Linked DNA regions of Homo sapiens: regions 2 and 3 are each linked to region 1. The links are contacts of gene promoters, found by promoter capture Hi-C in blood cells and fetal thymus (Javierre and others, 2016). All regions are on one chromosome and are shown on one strand. Each heading gives the region's core, a stretch centred on a gene start or on the middle of the fragment in contact. The rest is flanking DNA. Distances are from core to core; before and after follow the strand shown. Region 1 holds the start of AUH (AU RNA binding methylglutaconyl-CoA hydratase). Region 2 overlaps AUH (AU RNA binding methylglutaconyl-CoA hydratase). Region 3 overlaps LINC00484 (long intergenic non-protein coding RNA 484).

Region 1 (4,476 bases), core at 1,208-3,707:
ATTTTTTCTTTTTTTTTAAGAGACAAGGTCTTGTTGTGTCACCCAGACTGGAGTGCAGTGGCTCCATCATAGCTCACTGCAGCCTCAAAGTCCTGGGCAGTCTCCATCTCAAAAGAAAAAAAAAGAAAAGAAAAGGAAATTTGGTTATAGAGCTATGCCTCCTACAACAAATTACAAATATGGAGCCCAGATAACAGATGAGACCTGGTGTATTCTGCACTACTTACCCCCACCCACCTAAAGTGCTGCATGCTGTTTGAGGCTCCTGTGACTAGGAGAGTTATCCTATTCCTTAGAGGCTGCTGAGAGCACCAAATTTTGGACCCACCTCTAAGAGAAATAAAGGCACCCAGGAAACTCCTTCACCTGTAGTACCCTTGACCTCATGTTTTTCTTTGCACTGCTTATTGCTGGTTCAACAGTAAAGCAAAGCAAAGCCTAGGTAATGTTAGCCAAGCCTGAGTCGTCATTCTTGCCAATTCTCAAAGGAGGCGGGGTCAACTTTAAGAAACCATGATGTATGTCCTATCTCATCAGGAAATCAAGGCTAAAGAAAAAAAAAAAAAGAAACCATGATACCCAAAAAAATTTTCGTTTATTATCTTTTATTATCTGATATTCTCTCTTCTGTCCATTCAGATCCTAACTTAAAGTCTGTCCAGACATTCTGCACAAATATTCCTTTAATTGCATTCAAGTCATAACGACCAAAAAAATAGAATATGGTGCATATTAGTAGCTGTACTTGCAATCCCTTTATATCTAACATATTGTTGGTACACTTAACGGAAGTGAAGTCCCGGCATGACTAAGCTTACCCAAAAGATGATGGCATTCAGGCTCTAATCACTCCAGTGCTAGTCTATGCTTCCAGCTGAATTTCTTACTATTCTGCTTATGCCACACTTGCCTTATGTTACGTCCCAAATACACCACACATGTTCACATCTCCATGCCTTTGACCATGTTCTTGTCTCTGTCTGGAATAATAAGTAAGGAATAAAGTCATTCATCACACTCCTGAAGCACTGCTACGTGCTAGTGGCAATTTACATTAACAATCTCATCTCATCTTCATAACAAACCTATAAAGTTGGTATTGTTTTTCCTGTTTTACACGTGAGATAAGTCTGCCCAAGAACCCTCACAAATGGCAAAATCCACTGCCTATTAAAGAATGCCTTGGAACCCCTTTCAAATGGCGAAACCCTGCAGGTATTACAGCCCTTTCCTCTTACCATGCCTTGAAAGTTCACACAGCCTACTAATAACCAGGATCTGCTTCACTACACTAAAACCAATCACGACTTACACGCTTTTCACTTCTGCTTAACAGATTATAGGTGCTCAACAAATGCATGTCAAAATTAAAACACTGGTCCTCTGGCTTAACCCGGAGGTTAAGGGTGGAAACTGCTATTCCACCCTTCACGACCCTTTTAGCTTTTCCCTGCACTGCCAGTGAAAGGAACTGAGCTGTAACAGTATTCCCTAGGATTGTCAGCCTCCTTCAAAGCCTTCAAAGCTCTGTATTGTATTGCTAATGATGTCTCCTCCCGTAGAAGGTAGCTCAAGGGCAAGATCCATACCATCCACATTCTTATCGCCAGAGCTGAGGAAAATAAAAAGTGCTCAAAATTGTTTAAATGAAGTGGAACAGTCCCTCAAGACTAACTTTCTAAGAGAAAATGAACAAGAGGAAAAATTGTTCCAGCTGAGCAGCTTCAAATTTAAGATTCTCCGTAATAATAAAAGGCAGTTTCACCGCAGCTTTTACAACTCCACCACTAATAGCTGAGTTTACAGAAAGCCATTACACAGCAACAATAAAGCCTGGTAGCAAGGATTAAATCCCCAGGGTATATATTGACCTTGGCTTGTCTGGAGCGGAGGGCGTAAGCTGCACTTCTGTTTGCCGCGCTGAATGCGGTCACTTTACAGGTAAGCTGCTCGGGGGTACACGTTTAGGTTATTAAAAGCAAGAAATAGGTGCACAAGGAAGCGGCCACGCTGGGTGAGTAGGGAGGTGAGAAAGGGGAGGGACCCAGGTTCGGTGCGCCTGCCTGACCTCGACCCCGCGTCCTGCCGGCGGACGCTGCACCTTATGCCCGTCCTGAGAGCGAGCGGCCGCCCGCTGCCCCGCGCCTGCCCAGCGTTCGCACCTCACCTCGGTTCTCCTCCTCCAGGTGCCGCACCCGCAGCTCGTCCTCCGTCTTCATCTCAGAGCTGTAGCCCCTTTTCGGGGCGGGACCCCCGGCCGCAGGTACCCAGCCCTGGGCCCAGATCGCCGGGCCCGCTCGCCGGCCTGCCAACGAGCCGGGCAGCCTCAACCCCGGGCAGAGCCACGCACTGCAAGCGGCCACCAGGCGGGCGCCGCCAGCATGCAGGGATCCCAAGGCCCCAGGTGCCGCCGCCACCGCGGCCGCCATGTTGTCTGTTTACGGCGTGGACCTGCGACGGCCGCTCCGCCCCCGCCCGGCGCCGACCTGCCGCGCGCACGCGCACGGCGTCCGGACCCGCCGCCTCGCTCCGGCTTGGCCCCGCCCTCCGGAGCCGTGTTCCCGCCCCTCACTGCCCCGCCGAAGCCCGGTGACCCGAGGCCTTGCCCCATTCTCCAAGCGAGATTGGATGGTTTGTCCAATACAAAAGGAAAGAAAGTAGTTTTCCAAGGTTATGGAATAATTCAGGGAAGACTTTTCTATAAGAACCACCCGGAGGGAATTATCTCCCCGTACTCCCTGGACCATGCCCTGCGGTCCTGTGTTAAGTAAGCTGCAAAAGTGAACAAAAAAGTTTTGTCTCCTCAAGTTGGCTGAAAGTGTGGCAGCCCATCGTTGGTCACTGCCTTACTTATGGATCTCAGGTTGTTGGTTTAGCGTCCCTGATAAGCATAAATGATGTTTACTACGTGGCGTTCAGGAAAAGGATGAGAACAGCAAACAGGCAAAGGAGTTCTTTCTCCAGCCCACCCACTCGTACCGATGTCCCATGGCCCTTCCTGGACGGAAAGAGTCTTACAGGGGTTCAAACAAGCCATACGCTGAGATGGGATTTAGAGTATGTAGCTCTTCCAGAAACTCGGGATATCAATTTAGTGTGTAGGTACTCATCAAAGCACGTTGCAGTATAATTAATGCTACCTAGCTTTTATCAGATCTCTAATGGGAAAGCTTGCATTTAAGAATACTGGGCAGGGGGCGGTGGCTCACGCCTGTAATCCAAGCACTTTGGGAGGCCGAGGCAGGTGGATCACCTGAGGTCAGGAGTTTGAGACCAGCCGGGCCAACGTGGTGAAACCCTGTCTCTACTAAAAATACAAAATTAGCCAGGTGTGGCGGCACACGCCTGTAATCCCAGCTACTCGGGAGGCTGAGACAGGAGAATTGCTTGAACCCGGGAGGCGGAGGTTGCCCTGAGCTGAGACTGCACCATTGCACTCCAGTCCAGGCAACAAGAGTGAAACTCTGTCTCAAAAAAAAAAAAAAAAAAAAAAAAGAATACTGTTTGAAAAGTGTGCTGCTATGAGCATACGTCTAGTGCCACAGAAATTTCTTGTATTTTTTAGTCCTAAGCAAAACATCCTTCATTATGTCCTCAACTTTTATCCAATGTAGAAACAAAAAGTAGACTGAATTCCATTACTGCATCTGCTGTAAAATGATGTTGAAGGCACTTTTATTTTTATTTTTATTTTTTATTTTTTGACAGGTTCTGGCTCTGTCGGCCAGGCTGGAGTGCAGTGGTGTGATCGCCTCTCGCTGCAACCTCTGCATCTCAGGCTCAAATGATCCTCCCACCTCAGCCTCCTGAGTAGCTGGGATCACAGGCACACACCACCACACCTGGGTAATTTTTGTATTTTTAGTAGAGATGGGTGTTTCTATGTTGGCCAGGCTGGTCTTGAACACCTGACATCAAGTGATCCACCCAACTTGACCTCCCAGAATGCTGGGATTACAGGTGTGAGCCACCATGCACAGCCCACTTTTTATTCTATCTTTTGTAAAGTTCCATGCAGGAAAATTTTCCTGAAGTTTACTACAAGGAAAACTTTGCTTCCTTTGTATCTTTCCTCTTTTCTGATAATGATGTACATGTTGACTGCTGGGTGTTGTGATTTTTATTGTTATGGTTTCTTTCTAATTTGGTCTTGTGGTCACCAGAGGGAGGGTAAATCTGGAGGTGACAGGGAGTTCAGCCAGTGGAAGGGGGTCAAGGAAGGGGCACTTGTGGAGCTAAAGCCTCTGTTGGGGTCCAGCGTGTTACCCAAGCAGTTTCCCATGGAAGTTCTAATTGGTGAGTTTAGAACAAGCAGGCACAAGTTCCATGGAGTCACCCTGTCACTGTGAGGTGGTCACTGGAGCCCATCTACACAGTCCATGTGGGTTATGGAGGTCAACAGGTGAGTCAAGCAGGCTGCATTTACCTGTCCCATAGGGAGATGGTCACCAGGAAGCAGTTGCATTAAGCAGATAT
Region 2 (4,087 bases), core at 625-3,124, 150 kb before region 1:
ATATACATCCAATGCTATTTCTATCTAAGCACTGCTTTCAGTATATCCCACAAACTTTGAGAAGTTGTATTTTCATTTTAATTCAAAATACTTTATAATTCCTCAAGACATCTCTGACATATAACATTATTTAGAAGGATGTTGTTTAATCACCCAATATTTTGGGTTTTTCCAGCAGTCTTTCTTTTATTGATTTCTAGTTTAATTCCATTGTGGTCTGAAGAATACCTTGAATAATTTCTGGTGTTTACATTTAGTAAGTTGTAATTTATGGCCAAATGTGCTTTTAAAATTTTTCTTTGGGCTCTGAGGCTATTTCTAAGACGTTTGTAATTCACTTTCCTCATGGCACGTACTCATCAATGACAGGTGGTGATTTATATATACAAGCTGGGCACAGAGTCACACTCTAGATACTGCTCCTTTAAACGAGTGCTCATGCAGTTTCCAACTCCCAGGAAAGGTAGAACAAAACTTTTTTGCTATTTCAGATGCCCTAAAACAAAGTTCTATCTTTCAGAGAAAGACAAAAAAGGGAAAACATTTTTTTTTTCCTCTCCAGGAAGACCTAATAATTTGTATGCAGTCATCCCTCAGTTATCTGCAGGGGATTGGTTACAGGACCTCCTGCAGATGCCAAAATCTGCAGATGCTCAAGTCCCTTATATATTAATAAAATTGCATATCATATTACCTACGCACATCCTCCTGTATACTTTAAATCATCTCTAGATTATTTATAATACCTAATATAATGTAAATGGCATGTACACAGTTCTTATACTATATTGTTCAGGGAATAATAAGGAAAAAAGTCAGTACATGTTCAGTACAGATGCAACCATCTTTTTTTTTCCTGAATATTTTCAATTTACACTTGGTTGAATCCACAAATGCAAAACTTACAGATGAAAAGGGCCGACTGTGTAAAAAATAAAACTATAATTTCATTAGTGAACTTTCAGTGGTCAGGAGAGACAGATCAGAGGTTCAGGAAAAGCCAAGCAGTCTCACCCCAGGTTGCATGGCAGGCACACGCTCATCACCACTCTCCTCTACCTCTCTACATTGCAGTGGGAGGCCAGGACCAATCCCACAAAAGAAAGCATAAGCCTAGAGAGACAGCTCCTGCACACCCAGGACTGACTCAGTTACTCTAAGAGTTTTCTAGATTATATAGACAAGAGGCATTCCTGTGGAACAGAATCAGTCATAAGAGCTGGTAACAAATAGCAGAAACAACTAATTTCAACCCATTTGTATGATTTTGGAATGGGCGCAAGGGTAATCTTGCTCAGTGAAATTCATTTGAATTATACAGAAGGTAAATATAATTTGTAAGGGTCATCCTCATTGAATTTGTGATTGCATTACATACCTGAGCATAACAAGCTTCTTCTATGGCTAACCCTGTTACTAAATCGACCTGAGAATAAAAACATAATCCATTTCAGCAGAAATAACTTTGCGAAATGTGGTATATTCAACAGAAATTCAAATTGAATAACCTTATCCCCAAAGCACCCAATCCTTTGATATAGTACAGCAGATCAGAGTGTGACCAACATGAGACACAGAACCAGGCTTCCTGGGTTCGTCCTGACTCCCTCACTTGGGAGCTGAGTTACCTTGGGGAAGTTATTTAACCTCTCTGTGCTTCAAAGAGGCATGTCTGAACAAGGGGCTAATTATAATGCTCACCAAATGGGAGTATTGTGAGGATTAAATGAGTTAATCTAGGTGAGGCCTTTATGTCGCGACACACACACACACACACACACACGATGCTTAATACATAGTAAGGGCTATATAAGGTATTTGCTATTGGTATTGTTACCATTATGTAAATATTTAAATAAACCAATCAAATACTTTTGCAAATTTATGAAACTGTATTTACTGTTATACAGTATTGACTGTATAAAGTCAATCTCTTTTTACTGCTATACAGCCCAGGAAGATGCGGAGGTTCCTTAGTCTACCAAGAAGGAAGCACTTTTCTTCAAAATACCCATAAGTTACCCAAAATATAATAACTGCCATGAAAAGTCCAATAAATGGGTATGTGCACCACCCCCTCCTCCCAGGCCTGGGGCCTTCACTCTTTTGGAGTCATCTCCCTGGGGTACCCCCAGGACACACAATGGATTCACCTTATACCTGCATTGCGTGTGCCTCCTTGTAGAAGGCACACTGAGAAGCTAAAGGTGGAAAGAGCTAGCTGTTCTTGGAATGTTTTGTATAATATAATACTGATGCTAAAAATGCACAGAATGCCCTGTTATTTTGGTTTTCTATGAACTACTAGCCAATAAATCTGTCTGTTAACTGGATGGCAAGAATAATGAGCATGTCATAAGCTTCAGGGCACTGGTAAAATTACTGAATTCTGTGCTTGTGATACTGAATTAGCAATAACTGTAAGAATGAAATAAATGACGTACTTGCAAGGAACTTCAGTAGCTTTCAGTAATAGTAGCATTTAAACAACCATATTTTAGAACTTTAAAAAAAATGTAGAAGTCTAAACATGGTTCATTTAAATTAAATCTCCACTCTCCATTCCCAAAACAAACTCAAGCATTAAGGAACCTACCTCCATCCCTTGATTAATTGCTAATTTTGCCACTCTCATTGCAACAGGTCCCTAAAATTCAAATTAAAGAAACAGACTTCAATTATTTTTTATGCAAATTATGTCGTATATCTCAGTAAAATTCAGAATTCCCACCACTGGATCCATTGCACAGCCAGCAATGGCTGTCAGATACTAGATGGAAAATTTTCTGAGCCTTGCAAGGCTGTAATTAAAGAGCAACTGCAACAACCACATCAGCACATTATTTAGATTCCACATGTTTTGTTATGCTGCAAACTCCGGATCCTTAAAGGTGAGCAGGTAGTGCATGTCCAGCTGTGAGCTTGCTGTTCTTCAGCAACACTTCCTAGAAGTTAAGTAGAGGAAGGAAAAGGAGGTAGTCTTTGCCTCAGTACCACACCAATTAGGGGTTTTGAAAGAAGCTTGGGCTGGGGATGAGGCTGTTGCTATTGATTAAGGTAGGGTTCTGATATCATCTCCTTCAGACACTGGCTATATTTCCTCCATTCGCCTTGACAACTAACAGCAATGATGGTGGATTAATCAACAGTGTCCTCTAAGCAGTGCTCCCACAGCACACATAAATATGAAGTCTACATAAGTCTTTCAGGATGCAGAAGAGTCACAAGGAATGAACTGGATATCTGTTGTGAGAAGGAGAATGTTACCTGTGTCTTGCAGAAGCCAAACTCTTACCAAGCAGAAAAACCAGAATCCCTCAGATGGAATTTCATTATTGGATCACATTTTAAAGTCCTAAAATACCATTTATGGGTAATAAATGTGAATTCAATGCTATATTTTGAACTGAATGCTCTTTTGAATTAAAACACAAGGTAGGCTCTAAACAACAGGCACAGCAAAGGACTCTTGGATGGTGACATGGATAAATGCATGAAAAGACATGTTTTCCTATCAAGGAGTTTCTATTATTAAATTTGACCTATCTAAATTTTCTTCCAAATCATGTTTACAAATCTTTTTCAAAGGCCACAATTTCCAAGGCTATAGTTGTTAGACAAATATCTTATTGATAATTCTTCCCACTGTGATTTGTATATATCATAGACACCACCACCATTTTTTTCATGATAATCAATCCATTTTATTAAATGGTGTGCTCCTCTAATTTTTCCATTTTCATTGTCAACTGACCAAGAAAAGGTGCTTGTCAAACTCCTAGATGCACACAAATCCCCATCCTCCTTGTTAAAATGCAGATGTGGACTCAGTGGGTCTGAGATGGGCCTGAGATTCTGCACGTCTAACAAGCTGCCAGGAGATGCCCAGGCTGCTGGTCCACAGACCACACTTTGGGAAGTAAAGTTTAGAAAGCCATGAGAAAAACAGGAAAATTCAAAATGCTATTAGAAATAGTGCTTGATTTAATTTGTTTCCTCCTTAAAACATTTCCAGTGCCTTTTCTTCTTTACAAGCCTTTTTTTCTCAGATAAATGGAAGTAATATATAATACAGATATCACCTAGA
Region 3 (4,244 bases), core at 1,507-4,006, 190 kb before region 1:
ATAAAACTCTAATTCAAAAGAAAATGAGTTTTTACTTTACCAAAAGTGTAAACCTTTTTGGCTGGGAGCGGTGGCTCACGCCTGTAATCCCAGCACTTTGGGAGGCCGAGGCGGGTGGATCACGAGGTCAGGAGATCAAGACCGCCGTGGCTAACACGGTGAAACCCCGTCTCTACTAAAAATACTAAAAAAAATTAGCCAGGCATGGTGGTGGGTGCCTGTAGTCCCAGCTACTCGGGAGGCTGAGGCAGGAGAATGGCGTGAACCCGGGAGGTGGAGCTTGCAGTGAGCGGAGATCACGCCACTGCACTCCAGCCTGGGCAACAGAGCGAGACTCCGTCTCAAAAAAAAAAAGAGTAAATCGTTTTGTAAAATTTCTAGGAATTATTCTCAGCCTAAAACAGTGAGTTGTATACAGTTTCTATTAATTGAGGTTTGAAATGTACACGCATAGTAGCACAGTGGGTGAAATGACTGATCTGAAGTGTGCCACTCACTGAATCTGCTCATGTATACGTTCACGTGAGCACCACTCAGCTTCCCCAGATTTCCTTGCTATCCATCCCAGTCTATAATTACCCCCAACCAGAGGCAAGGCAGCGTTTTAGAAACTTTATTGAGGGTATGATTTCTGTCCAGTAAATTGTGTCCACTTCAAGCTTCCAGTCCAGTGAGTTTGACTATGTGCACACTCAGGTCACAAACCAAGGTCACAATCAGGAGGCAACACACCTTCATCACCCACAAGGGACACACCTTGGTCACCTTTGCCTCATCTCCCACCACCCTGGACACCAGGACACCACACATCTGTTTTTTAAATCACTATAGATTAGTTTGAGTTGTTTAATTTGTGTGTAAGAGAAATCATGAAGGATATACTCTTTTCTGGCTAGCCTCTCTCACCCGGCATAGTGATCTGGAGATTCCTTGATGCTGTGGGGAGTATAAAGAGTTCATTCTCTTTCATTGCTGAATAGTATTCCATTGTATGGATATACAACAGTGATTCTCCATTCACCTGTTAATAGACGTGTGGGGTTTTTCCAGTTTGGGGCTACTGTGAATAAAGCTGGTATGAGCATTCACCCACAGGTATTTGTGTGAACATATGTTTTATTTATTCTGGGAAAATACCCAAAAGTGGCAAAACTAGGTCATATGAAAAGTATATGCTTAACTTTAAGAAATTGCCCAATAGTTTGCTAAAGTGTTTGCATCATTTACACTCCCACCAAGACTGATTTGGTATTGTCGGTCTGTAATTTTAGCCATCCTAGTGGACGTGTAGTGATCTCTCATTGCAGTTTTGTTTGCAATTCACAGACAACTGATGATGTTGAACATCTTTTCATGGTTTTTTTGGCCATTTATATATGTTATATTTGTTGGTCATTTCTATATCTTCTTTGGTGAAGTGTCTGTTCAAATAATTTGCCCATGTATACATTGTATTCTTTGTCCTTTTACTATTTTTGTTGTTATTTAATATTTATTTTATAATCTTAAACTTAACTCTGCAATCCAGCTAGAACTGGAGGGGAATAAGGAAAATATGGAACCTAAAGAATGCATCAGCTGGGCGCGGTGGCTCAGGCCTGTAATCTCAGCACTTTGGGAGGCTGAGGCGGGCAAATCATGAGGTCAGGAGTTGGAGACCAGCCTGGCCAACATGATGAAACACTGTCTCTGCTAAAAATACAAATACTAGCTGGGCATGGTGGCGCTTGCCTGTAGTCCCAGCTACTCAGGAGGCTGAGGCAGGAGAATCGCTTGAACCCAGGAGGCAGAGGTTGCCGTGAGCTGAGATCGTGCCACTGCACTCCAGCCTGGGCAATAGAGGGGACTCCATCTCAAAAAAAAAAAAAAATGCATCGATAGCAAAAGATGATAGGCTACTGTGAGCAAATGGGGTGGAGGGGTGGTCTCCAGGTTACAGAAAAAGTAGTCTGGTGGTTAAGATAAAGGACGAGTCAAATGTATTAGACTGTCCAGAGTCAGCAATGGTGATCTTCTTGCTGGTCTTCTTATTCCTGAACCCAAAGTGCTCCATGGCCTCTGAGATATTCATGCCTTCTTTCACCTTCCCAAAGACCACATGTTTGCCTTCTAACCACTCAGTCTTGGCAGAGCAGATGAAAAACTGGAAACCGTTTGTGTTGGGTCTAGCATTTGCCATGGAAAGATGACAGGACCTGTATGCTTTGGGATGAAGTTTTCATCAAATTTCTCTCCATGAATGGACTTTCCACCAGTGCCATTATGGCCTGTGAAGTCGCCATCCTGACACATAAACCCTGGAATAATTCTGTGAAAGCAGGAATCCTTATAACCAAATATTTTCTCTCTAATGCTCAGAGTGCAAAAGTTTCTTGCTGTCTTTGGAACTTGGTCTGCAAACAGCTAGAAGGAGACACAACCCAAGGGCTCACCATTATCGGTGATGTCCATCATGGTTGGTGGCAGGGGGCCCTGGGTGGTGGCAGCATCTGCAAAAAAAGCCTGTCCTTTTACTATTTTGAGGTTTTTTTCTTTTTCTTTTCTGGAGACATGGTCTCACTCTGTTGCCCAAGCTGGAATACAATGGCATGATCATAGCTCACTGCAGCCTTGAGCTCCTGGGCTTCAGTGATCCTCCTACCTTAGCCTCCTGAGTAGCTGAGACTACAGGCATGCACCACCACTCCTGACTATATCTTTAATTTTTTTGTAGAGATGGGGTCTCACTATGTTGCCTGGGTTGGTCTCAAACCCCTGGGCTCAAGCTATTTTCCCACTCTGGCTTCCCAGAACACTGGGATTACAGATGTGAGCCACTATACCCAGCCATAATATTAAGATTTAAGCACAATTTATGTTTTGTGATTACAAGTTATCATCAGATATAGGTATTGCTAATATTTCCTCCTATTCTGTGACTTGCCTTCATTTCTTAGTAGTGCCTTTGAAAAGCAAAAGCTGTAAATTTTGATAAGTCCAGTTTATCAATTTTTTATGGATTGTGCTTTATGTATCCTATGTAAAAAACATATGCCACTCAAGGTTGCAAGGATTGTCTCCTATGTTTTCTTCTAGGATTTTTATGTGTATGGTCATTTCAAGTGAATTTTGTATACAGAGCAAGGTAAGAGTTGATGTTCATTTTTTCCTTATGCATATACTCAGTTGTTGAAAAAAACATTTCTTTCTTCATTAATTTGAGTGGGTATCTTTGTTAAAAATTGATTATCTATGGCTATCTTTGCCTGTCTATGACTATCCCTCTTATGTTCAAGGGCTCTATGTATCTAACATTTCAGTATTACCATACTACTTGGTTACTGTAGTTTTGTAGGAAGTCTTAAAATCAAGTGGTGTCAGCCCTCCAACTTCTTAAAAATGTCTTTGACTAATGTAGGTCCTTTATATTTTCAAGTAAATTTTAGAATCAGTTTCTCAACTTCTACAAAAAATTCTTTGCTAAAATTTTGATTAGGATTGCATTGAATCCATGGATCAATTTGAGAACTGATCAAGTGGATTTTACATGAGGAATGCAAGGATGGTTCAACATACATAAAGCAATAGATGTGAAACATCACTTAACAGAATTGAGAACAAAAACTATATGATCATCTCAACAGATGCAGAAAAAGCATTTTATAAAATTCAGCATCCCTTACATGATAAATTGATAACCTCAACAAACTAGGCACAGAAGGAAAATACCTCAAAATAATAAAGCCCATATACATCAAACCCACAGCCAGCACCATACTAAATGGGGAAAAGTCTAAAGCATTCCCTCCAAGAACTGGAACAAGGCAAGGATGCCCACTTTCACCACCCATATTCAACATAGTACTGGAAGTCCTAGCTAGAGCAATCAAGTGAAAGAAATAAAAGGCATCCAAACTGGAAAAAAGTAAGTCAAATTATCCCTGTTCACTGATGATGCATTCTTACATCTAGAAAACCCTAAACATTCCATCAAAAACTCTTCAATTCAATAAATAAATTCAGGAAAATTTTAGGATACAAAATCAATCTACTAAAATTAGTAGCATTTCTACATATCAATAATGATCTAGTTGAGAACCAAATCAAGAAGGCAATTCCATCTGCAATACCTACCAAAAAATTAAAACATCTAGGAATATTTTTAACCAGGAAGATGAAAGACCTCTACCAAGAAAGCTACAAAACACTGATGAAAGAAATTGTAGATAACCCAAATGGAAAAACATCCCATGCTAATTGATCAG

Evidence for each region. Contacts are between HindIII fragments. The CHiCAGO score rates a contact against its expected background, and 5 or more counts as called.
Region 2: a fragment that was not itself captured here is called in contact with the fragment with the promoter of AUH in region 1 in 3 of 17 cell types (activated CD4 T cells, total CD8 T cells and endothelial precursors); the score reaches 9.1 in activated CD4 T cells.
Region 3: a fragment that was not itself captured here is called in contact with the fragment with the promoter of AUH in region 1 in 1 of 17 cell types (total CD8 T cells); the score reaches 5.3 in total CD8 T cells.

The regions. Positions count from the first base shown.
Region 1 is chr9:91,359,461-91,363,936 of GRCh38, forward strand. It overlaps AUH (AU RNA binding methylglutaconyl-CoA hydratase), which reads right to left and starts at 2,458. Exons shown (of 10, transcript NM_001698.3): 1 at 2,168-2,458. The coding sequence starts at 2,429. RefSeq lists a silencer at 2,189-2,628. The HindIII fragment of the contact is 2,357 bases long and covers 812-3,168 here.
Region 2 is chr9:91,214,681-91,218,767 of GRCh38, forward strand. It overlaps AUH (AU RNA binding methylglutaconyl-CoA hydratase), which reads right to left. Exons shown (of 10, transcript NM_001698.3): 8 at 2,597-2,647; 9 at 1,379-1,426. Among named protein-coding and RNA genes, the nearest start is that of LINC02937, 53 kb to the left of the region's middle. RefSeq lists an enhancer at 2,601-3,201. The HindIII fragment of the contact is 968 bases long and covers 1,391-2,358 here.
Region 3 is chr9:91,167,598-91,171,841 of GRCh38, forward strand. The region is part of intron 2 of LINC00484 (long intergenic non-protein coding RNA 484); the gene reads left to right. Among named protein-coding and RNA genes, the nearest start is that of LINC02937, 6.4 kb to the left of the region's middle. The HindIII fragment of the contact is 4,198 bases long and covers 658-4,244 here.